Linked DNA regions of Homo sapiens: region 2 is linked to region 1. The links are contacts of gene promoters, found by promoter capture Hi-C in blood cells and fetal thymus (Javierre and others, 2016). All regions are on one chromosome and are shown on one strand. The core of a region is centred on a gene start or on the middle of the fragment in contact, and the rest is flanking DNA. Distances in the headings are between cores, read along the strand shown.

Region 1 (5,871 bases), core at 1-2,500:
GAAACTTTCATGCGATGCCTTTGGAAGGCTACAGACATTGTCTTTTTGGAGTTTTCAGTGCATGAAGGTATGAAACCGCATTTATTAAGCACCTACTGTATGCCAGAACCCGTGCTGCACAATACTACTGCTGCTAAGGTGGGAGTGATTCTGAAGCCTTCTGCCACCCTAGCTACCTCTGCAGGTCGTGAGGGGTCTTGGGCTATTTCAGTATCATGCACTTTACTATCCTGGCATACAAAGGCTGGGTGAGAAATAAAATATATAACGAACGGATTACACAGGGGTTTCCTGAAATAACCACCCTTCCCATCCATCCCAGAGACACCCCAAAAGTACTTCTCGTTATATACAAACATTTGCTTTGAACCTCAATCATGTGACCTTGACTCCTATAACCTATCTTATTACATTTTTAAAACACTGTATGATTAACGCGGAAACCCTTTCTTCGGCACTTTCTCGCCACTGGAATCGCGTCAGTTTCTCAAAGTTCCAAAATAACCTTTCCCGGGCACGGATTGGTACCTCTACTGGGGAAGGGCGGGGAACCGCGCAAGACGTGCCGGTGTGGAGCCAGAGCCAGAGAGAACTTCCAGCGCAAAAGGAAAATAAAACTTGTGGCTGGTGTTTGTGCAGGAGGGTCTCCGCCATCCTGAAGCCCCCCGATCCTGGGGCGTCTCGGGGGCCGCCAAAGGAGCGCCAGGGTGTGGGTTTGCTCCCGACGTCCTTGACCTAAATTTCTGAGCGGTGGCTGGAAACAGGGCACAGCGGAGGGCGGGCGGCTGGTGCCATTCCCGGATCTCGGCGGCAGGGGCCGGCAAACTTGAATGGAGAGGGCGAACTAGAGAGGGTGGGGGGCGTCTTCTCCCAGGTCCGGGTGAGGAGCCGCAGCAAGCTCCCCGCGCCTCCCCTCCCCCGATCCACCCGCCCCCCGCAGCCCATGTGATCCAGGGAAGTCGGGGTGCGCTCCCCCTCGCCCTGCGCCCTGCCGGCCCGGAGGCGGGGTCCCCTCCGCCCGCGGGGTTCGCGCGCCACCCTTGTGGGTCCGGCCGTGGGGGGCCGAGTGTGCGCGCGCGGGCAGGCGGGGGCCGCACGGGGGTGCGTGACGTCACCGGCATTGGTTACACGACGTTCTAGAACTCCGCCCCACGTGCGCCGGGGAGGAGGGGGAGGAGGAGGAGGAGATGGGGGTGGGGAGGAGGAGGGGGAGAGGTGGGGATGGGCCGGGGGGGCGGGGACGGGGGGGTGTGCGAGGCAGCGGGGCTGAGCTAAGCCGAGCCCACGTGTGACGGCTCTCGCCGCTGCCCCGGCTCCGCCGCTCGCAGAGAGATTCGGAGGAGCCCGGGCGGGGGGGAGGAGGAGGGGGAGGAGGGAGCGGAGATCTCGGGGCTCGGAGCCGGCCGCCGCTCCGCTCCGATCGCTGTGGGGCTTGGTTTTTTGGGGGTGGGGGGGCGGGGGGGCTCAGATATGGAGGCAAATGGGAGCCAAGGCACCTCGGGCAGCGCCAACGACTCCCAGCACGACCCCGGGTAAGTTTCCAGCCGCTGCCCACCGCGCCGCCTTGGGCTCGCTCTCCTTGCAGCGGCGGGGACGGCGGTGCGCGGAGCCGGGCATCTCCCGCGCCCCCCCGCCTCTCCCGCGCGCCCCCCCCGTGGAAGTTACACACCTTTGGATTGCATTTCGCCGTCACCTTCTCCCCCACCCCACCTCCCGGCTCTCGCTCGCTCGCTCCCCCCCGCTTTCCTTTTAGCTTTTGTAAGTTACACGTCAAAATGGCCGATCTGACATCGGTGCTCACTTCTGTTATGTTTTCTCCCTCTAGTAAAATGTTTATCGGTGGACTGAGCTGGCAGACCTCACCAGGTAAGGGAGGGAGGGGGGGACGCCTGGGTCCCCCCCTTCTTGGCTTCTTTATTGCTCTTTGTTATCCCGGTGTAGGAGCCCCCCCCCCCCCGCCATTGGCTCCCCACTTCTCCTGTGCAAGGTTATTTTTTTTAAATAGCAAATCCTTTCTGAGCCCTCTATGCGACCTCTGTTGCCGAATTTCCCCCGCGTGTGCAAAAAATGCAAAAACAAAACAGAATAACAACAGAAAACTACTTTTGGATTTTGTCCTTGATCAAAATTTGCATTGCTTTTTTTTTCCACACCTTCTCTCCCCCCCCCATCTCTCTCTTTCTCTCTCTACAGATAGCCTTAGAGACTATTTTAGCAAATTTGGAGAAATTAGAGAATGTATGGTCATGAGAGATCCCACTACGAAACGCTCCAGGTAAACCATTCCCTTCTGGATTTTGTCTTTATTTTAGAACAAAGTTTAAGTTTTATTTTTGGAGGTGTCTTCGGAAGTAGCTAAGCGGATTAGAATGGGGCTCAGGCGCGTGGCTGATCTCGAACGGCGCTCTATACCACCCCCACCGCCCCCTAGTAACCCCAGAGGTTATTGTTAATTGGAGCTGAACTCTGGATACAGAGATACCCATCTCTCTGCTTTTAAGTCATTTTCCCGTCGCTTCTTTTTCTCTGTTTAAAATGACATTCAGCTTCATTTACTTTCGCATAGTTTTTTTTTTTCTTTTGATCTTAATGTGTGTTTCCCCCACACTCCCAGCTCCCCAAACTCTTAAGATCCCTCTTAGAAAGATGGTGGTAAATCTCTTCTAAGTGCCGGGCTTTCTTCGGAATAAAACAAAGCGTTAAGAAAGGGAAGGGGAGGAGGAGAGGAAACTGAGGTGGCCAAAGAGTGGAGGCACCAGCATTTTCCAAGTTACCTCCACCCTCCCTGCCCCCGTTCCACTTCCCCCGTTAACCTTGATGTTTTTTCTTGCGAGGTGGAGGGCTGTAGGCAGGAGGGGAATTGGAGGAGGGGAGTGGGAGGTGGGGGTGCGTGGGGGGCAACTTTTGCTCCTCATTCAGCCTTAGGTCTCACTCCTGGTTGCTTTCAATGGTGTCACATTTTCTTGTTTGTTTTTCTCCCTCTTTGTCTCCTTTCAGAGGCTTCGGTTTCGTCACGTTCGCAGACCCAGCAAGTGTAGATAAAGTATTAGGTCAGCCCCACCATGAGTTAGATTCCAAGACGGTAGGTTGCTTTTTGTTGTTGTTGTTCGCCCCTTTTCAGGAACGATCTGGGCATTGACAGCCCCATTTAAAGGGACAGTGCCTTCTTTTGCTTCTGTGCTAGAACTGGGTAGTTTTAAACTGAGCTAGCGAGTTGGCTCAAAAGTTTGCTGCTGTGGCTGGCTTTGGGGTTTTCTTTTTAGAGCCTGTCCCATTGCAGCTTCAGAGGCTGCCAAGGTTAGGCTTGGGGAGGAGAGGGTTCGGCTCCTGGAGAGTCTGCCTTCCCGGCCTGGGGACTGTGCAGAGAAACTCCACCAGAGAGCAAATGCAACTTTTCTTTGTCAGCCAAGCACAGCACGCGTTACCAACTGTGGCTGTGGGGATCAGCTTTGAGAAGGCACAGCCTGCTTTGTGGCCAAGGGGGACAGCAGTGGGAAGGAGGGGAGAGGGCGCTAATTACAGGTCCAGGCAACAGGTTTCTCTTGGGGCACTTGGGATTTGGAATGTGCTTTGGGAAGGGAAGGGGACGCTGGCGGAGCTGAGCTGGGCATCCACTGGGGTGACTCCAGATGGCATGAAATCTAAGGCTGATAAGGCCTGGGGGTTTCAAAGTGATTTTTTTTTCCTTCCTTTTCTTTCTCAGATCCTTTCATTTGAGTATGGGTACTTTTATACATCACAAGTTTTAAAAATCCAGAGTAGAAGGGGGAAGAGTCTCCAGGCAGAGGTCAGAAGGGGAAGGGAAGAAAGAGTGTCTGTATATAACAATACATTTAATGGGAGGGGGAGTGTGCAGTGTTTTATTTAGCCCCTGTGTGGGCTTCCTGCCTCTCCTCCCTTCCCTTTATGTCTACCAGAGTTTCCCCACGGTTTTTATTAATATATATCTGCCCCAAACAGAGGCCTTAAGATGACATTGGGCTGTAGTGCTGGGTTGCATGGAACTTCACTCCTCTGTGATGGGGTAGTGGGACAAGGCCAGAAATGGGGCTCTACTTCCATCCGCCTCTTATGAAAGTGAGCAAGACATTCCCTACCTCTGGGTCTCAATTTCCTCTTCTGTAAAATAAGTGGACCAAGGTGATCTTTCAAGCCCCTTTTGGCTTTAACATTGAATGGAAGAGAAGGAAAGCAAATAAAGAAACCTGGCAACCTTCGGTGCACTTGAATTGATTTTGCAAATTCACCCTCTTTCTCTGATCAAAGAGATCAGGAATGCGTGCCTTCTCCTAAGAAAGAAACCCACCTACACTCTTAGTTGCTTTATTAATTGTCCTGGACTTGTCATAGCTTGCATGCAGCCCAGCCTTTTGTACTTTTAGATAATTTAATTTCAGAAATGATTTGTAGGATGATAACAGATGTCTGAAAAATTTTTCTCTCCTTGATTTCGTGGCTAGCCATTTCAAAAAGCTAGTGAAATTAAAGAGGAAAATCTTTTCAAGGCAAATTTGGGAATTTATCATCCACCCCCTCTTGCTACCTGGGTGGGAGAAACAGTATTTGGTTTCTGTGGTGGCTGGTGGGTCATATTCCTCTGTATCAGGTGCAAAGCCTGCAGTTTCCCTCTCTGATTGTTTATAGACATGTTTTGGTCACTATTATTTAGTGTAACCTAGCTTTTGACTTTGTTTCAACGTTCAGTGCAGGAGGCAGAAGCGGTTGGTTTATTGACATGGAAACGAGGATCTTGTTTACTGTTACCTTAAAAGCTTTGTTTAGGTAACGGCCATTCACATCCAAAATAGTACCCTAGTCTTTTCCTAGAGGACTTGTAGATACAGTAAGTAGAGCTGTACCTAACTAACTAATGTTTTAATTTTTGGTAGTTTTCTTTTTTGTTTGTTTTTTAAAAAATAGTTGACAGGGATGTGCAAAAGGTTGGGATTTGCCATGCTTAACTTGACCCTTCCTCTCCTTCAGAGATCTCAGCGTGTAAACTTTGCACACTGAGGAACTTCGATCATGATATAATGCTCTGATACGGCCACACACCATCCAGGAGTTCTGAATTGGCTTTTTCGTTTTGTGATTTAAATTTTCTTTAGTACTTCACTTTCTTCATTGCACCTTACTTCTTCCAGCTCCTGGCACCTCCCTCAACATACCCCACACCTGTTACCCCATAAACAAGGTGATTTCTGATTGCAATTGTGTGCCGGCCAACTAAAAAAAACACCCTCTGGGGAGTATTTATAAAAAGACACCTCTGTCTTACGTACGTCAACAGAATGGAAAATCCACACCTGTTGTATTTCTCTTGTAGACAAGCGCTAGTCAGTGCTGGACACACCTGTAGATGCAGTAATGTTAATCTTTATGAAAGGGTAGTTTTCTAGATCAGAGATTTTTGTCTATTTTAGTTTTTGAAAAGTAATCTCTCATTTCTCAGGTGATGTTTAAAGGTAGGGAATGCAATGCAGACTTTTATTAGGTCTTTAAGCCCCCGTAATAACAGCAGGAAATCCTCATATGTCTTTCTGGCTGGGACCCTAGGTGATGTAAGTCAGGGAACAAATGAACTATCCTCCGTGCTTCCCACTCCCCACCCCCACCTCCCTACTTTCCTCCACAGCATTACTCTTTTCTCCCCTGCTCCTTCTCATGGCAGAAGTGAAAACAAAGCTCAGATTTACTTTTTAAAAGGAAAACATTTTAATATGAAAGCCAAAGCCTGGAAATAAATAACTGGTAGCATGTTTATACTATCTGTGTTACATTTTTACCCAAAGATTTGTGACATTTAGAAATTCAATGAAAACCGACAACGGGAATATTTTCACATTTCTTTCCTCCTCTTTTTATCTGTGC
Region 2 (6,375 bases), core at 139-2,638, 510 kb after region 1:
GGAGGTTTGCCAGATGCCTGGCTGGGCTGACCCACCCCAGGTTCGGGAGGCCTAAAGAGCAGCTGCATCTTTTGAGGACTGTATAAGGGGTCAGAAGCCCCACCTCTTCCTACCACCCTTGTACAGGGGAGAGCAGGGTTCTCATTTCTACAGCGCCCCCCACCGCCGGTGGGGCAGGGATGCAAGCATTATCTCACCTCTTACTCTGTGTCCTGGAAACAACCTGGGAAGTCATCTTGTCCAAACATTTTGTTTTGCAGGAGATGAAACTGAGGCAGAAAGCGGCTGAGAAATATTCTCAAAGTCACACAGCTAGAGTGGCTGAGCTTGGTTTTATGCAACTGATCGGAGAAGGTAGTGGACAGAGGAGAAGAAAGGAAGAGACAGGGCCCCAGGGCAAGAAAGAAAGGGATTGACAGGGAACGCCGCTGCAGGGAAGGGACTTCGGGGACTGCTCAGCATGTCCGCACAGGAAAAGAGGCCCAAGCCCTTGTTCGGTTCATTCCAAAAAGTGGATTGACATCAAGATGAATGGCCAATTAGGGAAGATTGCAGAGACAATTTACAGAGCAAGTTCGCTCATATTCTGGGGCTAGATCAGTTGGGGGAGACTCCAAAGGCCCGTCTTCAGTAAAAATAATCTGATGATCGCTAATTCTATAGCCATTAGCTTTGGAGAGACTGGTGTGAGACGGTGTAAAGTGTTAAAATGACTCTCTTCCTTTGGGGGAGAACTTACAGCCTTAATTCAGCTGGGGTTGCAGTCCATGGGTCTTAACTGAAAGAGAGAACATCAGTCCCAGGCATCACAACAGAGAAGCCCAGGAGACCCAAAGAATCAGCAATCTGTTTCTCCAGTACTTGAAGGACAGGGTAGACAATGGTCTTTGGAGGAAGTTTAAAGCTTTCAGACGTTGAGGTGGACCAGACGGCCTCTAAGGGTTTCTCCCTACCAGAAGAGTATTTGTTTGTATGGTTCAGTTACTAAATGGACACCATGGGCTATCCATTCTTCTTGTTCAAGCATCATAGAACCAAAGCCATGACCTGCCAGTCTAGAGCTGGCTTTCAGCTTGGAGCTTGCTTGAGCACAGGGGAAGGAGAGTGGGGTGGGGAATGGGATTCCACAACCTCTTCCCAGCTTCCCAGCTCTGATGTCCTCTCTCTCGCCTGAGGTGTGAGGGGGTAATGGCTCTGAGCAACCCTCACAGCCATACAGCGAGAGGATTAATTAATGTGGCTAACATGCTCGGAGATCCCTAAACGAGGACGTTAGCCAAGGGCCAACATTATTAGAGGGATGATGGCTATTAGGATTACGCTATTGTTATGATGTTTGCTTTCTCAACCCTTAAATCACACTCTACCTCGCCATCACTTGCATTTTGTGTAATTATAGTTTATATAGGTAACAAATGGATATTTCTGCAAGCCTGGGAGAGAGCCTTCTGCATACATTAATTTGCTTGATTAGTTCTCTATTTAGTATGCTCTGTTCCCCCAAACCCCCCTTTCCTGCCCAGCTTCAACAGAAAATTAATGAGTTTTAACACCTTGTAAAAGTGGGTTGTGCTGTGGGAATACCTTGAGTGTACTTTGGGTTTTAAATCCACACATTCAGAGGCTTCCTAAAGGTTATGCAAAGGTTAACAAACAATTAATATGTTGAATCAGTGTGCTAAATCTGTTTACCCAATCTTTGCAATCTAAAGGCCATTAGCCATCAGCCTCAACACTTACATTGATCTCTCTCTTTCCTAACCCACCCCCACTCTGTTCTCTGAATAATCTGAGTCAAAAGCAAGAAAAAGTTCTGAATCGAGAGCAGTAAATATCTCTGGAAAGTTTGGGGTTTCTTGCTACTTAAGCCTCAAAGCTTTGGGAATCGTAATAGACTTGATCAAGTTGTCAAAAATTTTGAGAATACAATGAAAGATGGGAAGCATTTCCACCTTTTTAACAATGAGCAAAATGTGAGTTAGTCTTGTACATGGATCCCATCTTGAGTTCATGGCTCTTGTGCTGATTCTCTCCCTTGTTTATAGGACAAAGGGGATGGAGAAGTGGTGGGAGATAATTCTCATCTTAGTGGACTAATTGGAAAGAGGCTTTCTACTACTCTCTAAGGAGAAAATTCAGCAGAGCTATTGGGGCCAGAATGTTTCTTTCCTTAAGAGAAAGAAGAGGGTAAGGAAATAGCCAAATGTAATCCAGGTGGTAAGATTGCCCCCAGGGGTCTCCTAGTCCTTCAAAGAACTTCATTGCTCTCCCTCATTTTAGGATGCCTTTGTTCATGATGATAATGATGATCATGACTATAATGAAGACCATGACCTTGATGAGATCGTCAAGATTTATCATCAGAGTCCAGTGGGCATGAGGAAAGCAACATGCAGCAGTCCTTCCCAGCCTGGCCCCTTAAGAGGAGCTTTCCTGCCCATGTGATCCACCTCTATCCTTGGCTCAACAGAAACAATCTCCCATGTTGACTGAGACCCCGTCTCCTTAGCCTGTTCCCAGACTTGCCAATCACCTTGTCTCCCTACCTATGACCCCTTTTGTGATGCTCATTCTTGCACACAGACTGCCAGATTTGGCCGGTGAGGTGATTCCTTAGACATGATCTGACATTGGCTCTGGGACTCAACTCATAAGCCTTGCTCAGGTCTTCTCCCTAGTGTCAGAGGCAACTCCTATGGAGAACTTCAAAGGTGGCATCATTTTCCTCTTCAAAGTAAATATTAGCAAGGACTAAGAGCTAGCTCTCTGTCTGCTTTCGGTTTTATTGGTAGGTGGGGCCCAAAAATTGTAACAACTAGAAAAGCACAGTCACTGACCAACCAGAATGGACACCTGATGGAAACAACCAGAATAGCTGTGCCCTTGCATGCCAGTCAAATGTCTGCCCTGGTTGTCTGGATATCAATGGGAAGGCATTGTTTTGGGTTCTATCAAAGTGCACTGCTCATGAATTTTCTTGATTACATTTGGCTTTCGCATTGTTTGTGAATTAAGCTTTGTTTAATTTTACTTCCACTTACAATACATTGGTATGTGCAAATACCTTTGTTTCTAAAACTTCGTGGATGTGAATATTAATGGTGATAATGAAGACATGTGTCAGGCAGTGTCCTAGGAGTTTTATGTGAATTATCTCATTCTGATTCTTTAGCTGAGGTACCTACAATTACTACTCCCATTTCATAGATGAGGAAAAGCAAGATTAAAGAGGCTGTGGAGTTTGATCAAGGTCACAAAACTGAAAAGTGATGGAACTAGCTCTCTTTGATGCCAAGACACATGTTCTCCTGCAAGAGAAAATATTCTACTTAACAAGATTTAACACACTGCCTTTTATCCCAGAGCAAATCAGATGAGTCATGTAAACCCACTGGCCTTTTTTCTGTACCTGGAAATGAGGGTATTTGAAGTATAACTTATATTAACAGATACGAAGGTAGAAAAATCATAGCTATCTAACAATCAGAAATAGAAAAAAAAAAGACAGTATACCTGCTTCATTGTACATTATCAGTCATTAAAAGTAAATTTCACAAAGAGTTTAACATTCAAGCGTGTTAATAATATCAAAATAATTGAATGAAGCAGGATATAAAAGTACATATTAGGCATTTTATTATTACAACTACTTAAAACATATCCAGAATGCTAAAGTATTTATAGGTGAAGGGTACTGATGTTCATTGCTTTGAAATGCACTAAAAATAAGATAATTGTAGAATCTAAGTAGTGGGTATGGAATGTTCACTTTATGTGTTTGAAAATTTTCAGAATAAAATGTTGAAAAATATGTGTAGAAAAAAAAGAGAGCGAAAGGAAAAACTTACGGATGTTAAGAACAGTCATCTTTGGCCAGGCATGGTGGTTCACGCCTGTAATCTCAGCACTTTGGGAGGCTGAGGCAGGTGGATCGCCTGAAGTCAGGAGTTTGAGACCAGCCTGGCCAACATAGTGAAAACCCGTCTCTAATAAAAACACACACACAAAAAAAAAAAAATTAGCCGGGCATGGTCGCACACGCCTTAGTCCCAGCTACTCTGCAGGCTGAGGCAGGAGAATCACTTGAACCCAGGAAGCAGAGGTTGCAGTGAGCCAAGATTGTGCCACTGCACTCCAGCCTGGGTGGCAGAGTGGACTTCATCTCAAAAAAAAAAAAAAAAAAAAAGAGCAGTCATCTTTATGTGATGGGATTATGGGTGATTATTTTTCCTCTTTCTAATCTTCTACTGTTTCAGTTACCTATTGTTATATCAAACCATCCCAACACATAGAGACTTAAAACTACATCCATTGATTATTTCTTATACTCCGTTTGTGAGTTGGTGACTTAAAACAACAGAACTATTTATTATTTCTCCTGATTCCATTTGCTAGCAGGGAGGTTCCTCAGCAGGTTTTGTTTGGGCTCAGGCAGTTGCTTTCAGCTGGAGAGTCAACTGGGGTGGGAGATCCAAGTCAACCTCCCTTACGCCGTTGGTAGTTGGTGCAGAATGATGGTGGGCCTTTCTCTCCATGTGGTCTTTCATCCCAGGCTTCTTCATGGATGTCTGTCTCAGGGCAATGTTCCTAGAGGAGAGCAAAGGTGGAAGCAGCAATGACTCATAAGCCCTAGCCTCAGAAGTTGCCTAGCTTTGCTTTCTGCCCCTTTCTATGTGGACAAAGCTGGTCTCAAAGCCAATGAAATTGCAAGGAGTAGACAAGCAGATGTCTCCTCTGGATGGGAGGAGTTGCAAAGCTGTATTGCAAAGGGTCATAATCCTGGATTGAAATGAATCTGGAGCCATAAAAAACCTACTACAACTACTGCGCTAGATGTTAAAATGGGATTCTTGTCTCAGTATTACTGAGACAAGACATTATTTCTACTGAAAGTAGAAAATAATGGGTGCAGAGTAAAGCAGGATGCTGGGCCAGCATGGCAGGGTCTCCAGTTCAGTCAGCACTCGAACATCATTGATTGTTTTAAGAGAAGGCTGTGAATGCATGAATCAGGATGAAGAGATTGAGAGTAAAGATTTCTTTAAAGAGGGAGAGAGTTAGTTGTTGAATACAAAGGCAGGGGCACTTAGAACCACTCAAAGGATTTGCTCTATGCCCCTAGAATTTGAAGGATGCAGGGATGCAACCTGACTCATGCTCCAAAATCAAAGACAGAGGGCCAGCTGGGATGGCCTGCATGGATGGGCAGCCAAGAGGCAGGGCAGGGGCAGGAAGCACTGCACTTGTTAGGTTTGGTGGTGCGAGGATACAGGTGCGCTTCCCGTGGACCAGACGTGGACTTCCCCTGAGAAAAATGCCTGCTTATAGGTCAGATATGGATCCCCTAGAAGTGAGTGCTCCCTGCTGGAGAAGTGAGGCGACCACAACAGAGGAGCTGACTGCTGTAAATTAGCGCTCTTATGGAGTCAGCTGGAGGAAGCACCGTCCAAGAAAATCCTCAGCCAGTGGGGAGATGGTGTCTCCAAAGAACCCTAAAGAGCACACACAGGAGAAACACACCCTCAGGATACCAGGTTACAACTGTTCCAGTCAACCAAGACTTTGCTTGCCCCCTAAGCCTCTCCCCCATCTTCCTCCCACACTGGCCCAGGTGGCAGAAGCCGACTACTGAGAGGGGGCGCGAGGAAGAAAACAGAGAAGAGGCAACTGCATACATGCCTGTGCCCACGGGCCAAGCTCAGCAAGGGGAGAAGTTATAAACTGCATGAGAGTTTGATATGAGACTGGGACTTGACATTTTATTACCTGAAGGAGCAAGACTCTTAATTAATACCTGGGAGTATCCAAAAAGCAAGAGAAAGAAAAAATGAATCCACAGAGCCAGTGTGCAGGGCAAGTCGGGGGAAGAGTAGAGTTGCTTTCTGTCTGCACCCCACCAAGCCAGCCCAACTCATTCATTTACCTGGTTACTTTATATTTTCCATTTTTTATATTAAACTGGCATGACTTATAGAGAGAATGAAAAATAAACTCTGTTTTTAAAAGGGAAGAAAAGAGCTTTGCACTCTACATTTCAGAGTTTTAAGATTGATGAGAAGGCGTCCTGACAAGAGTCTGGGTTGACCAGGAGAGGAAGGAAATGAGGCATACGCTTGGGAATTGGGAAGTAGGTTTCTTCAAGGTTTTGTGTCTAAATAAGTCTACAGACTTCAGCAAAAACAAGTTAAATAGCAAGCTCCGAAGTACATTAGCCACCCTGAACAATGTGATCCAGGTACCTTGCCCCAGAAAACATAGTCTGGCAATTTTAGACTGGCATAGCCGGCAATTTTAGAATATGAAAGGCTTCTTCTAGCATAAACACTTTCTTTCTTGCAAATTCCTGAGAAATGAACACTCAACCTGCTCTCAGGT

What was found. Contacts are between HindIII fragments. The CHiCAGO score rates a contact against its expected background, and 5 or more counts as called.
Region 2: a fragment that was not itself captured here is called in contact with the fragment with the promoter of MSI2 in region 1 in 9 of 17 cell types (naive CD8 T cells, M1 macrophages, total B cells and 6 more); the score reaches 11.1 in naive CD8 T cells.

What each region holds. Positions count from the first base shown.
Region 1 is chr17:57,255,273-57,261,143 of GRCh38, forward strand. MSI2 (musashi RNA binding protein 2) reads left to right here and starts at 1,251. Exons shown (of 14, transcript NM_138962.4): 1 at 1,251-1,532; 2 at 1,826-1,866; 3 at 2,194-2,275; 4 at 2,998-3,082. The coding sequence starts at 1,471. LOC101927510 (a long non-coding RNA gene) reads right to left here and starts at 1,724. Exons shown (of 3, transcript XR_007065860.1): 1 at 1,670-1,724. RefSeq lists a silencer at 806-1,435 and enhancers at 3,414-3,503, 4,490-5,013. The HindIII fragment of the contact is 32,545 bases long and covers 1-4,770 here.
Region 2 is chr17:57,767,610-57,773,984 of GRCh38, forward strand. No RefSeq gene overlaps it. Among named protein-coding and RNA genes, the nearest start is that of CCDC182, 25 kb to the left of the region's middle. The HindIII fragment of the contact is 972 bases long and covers 903-1,874 here.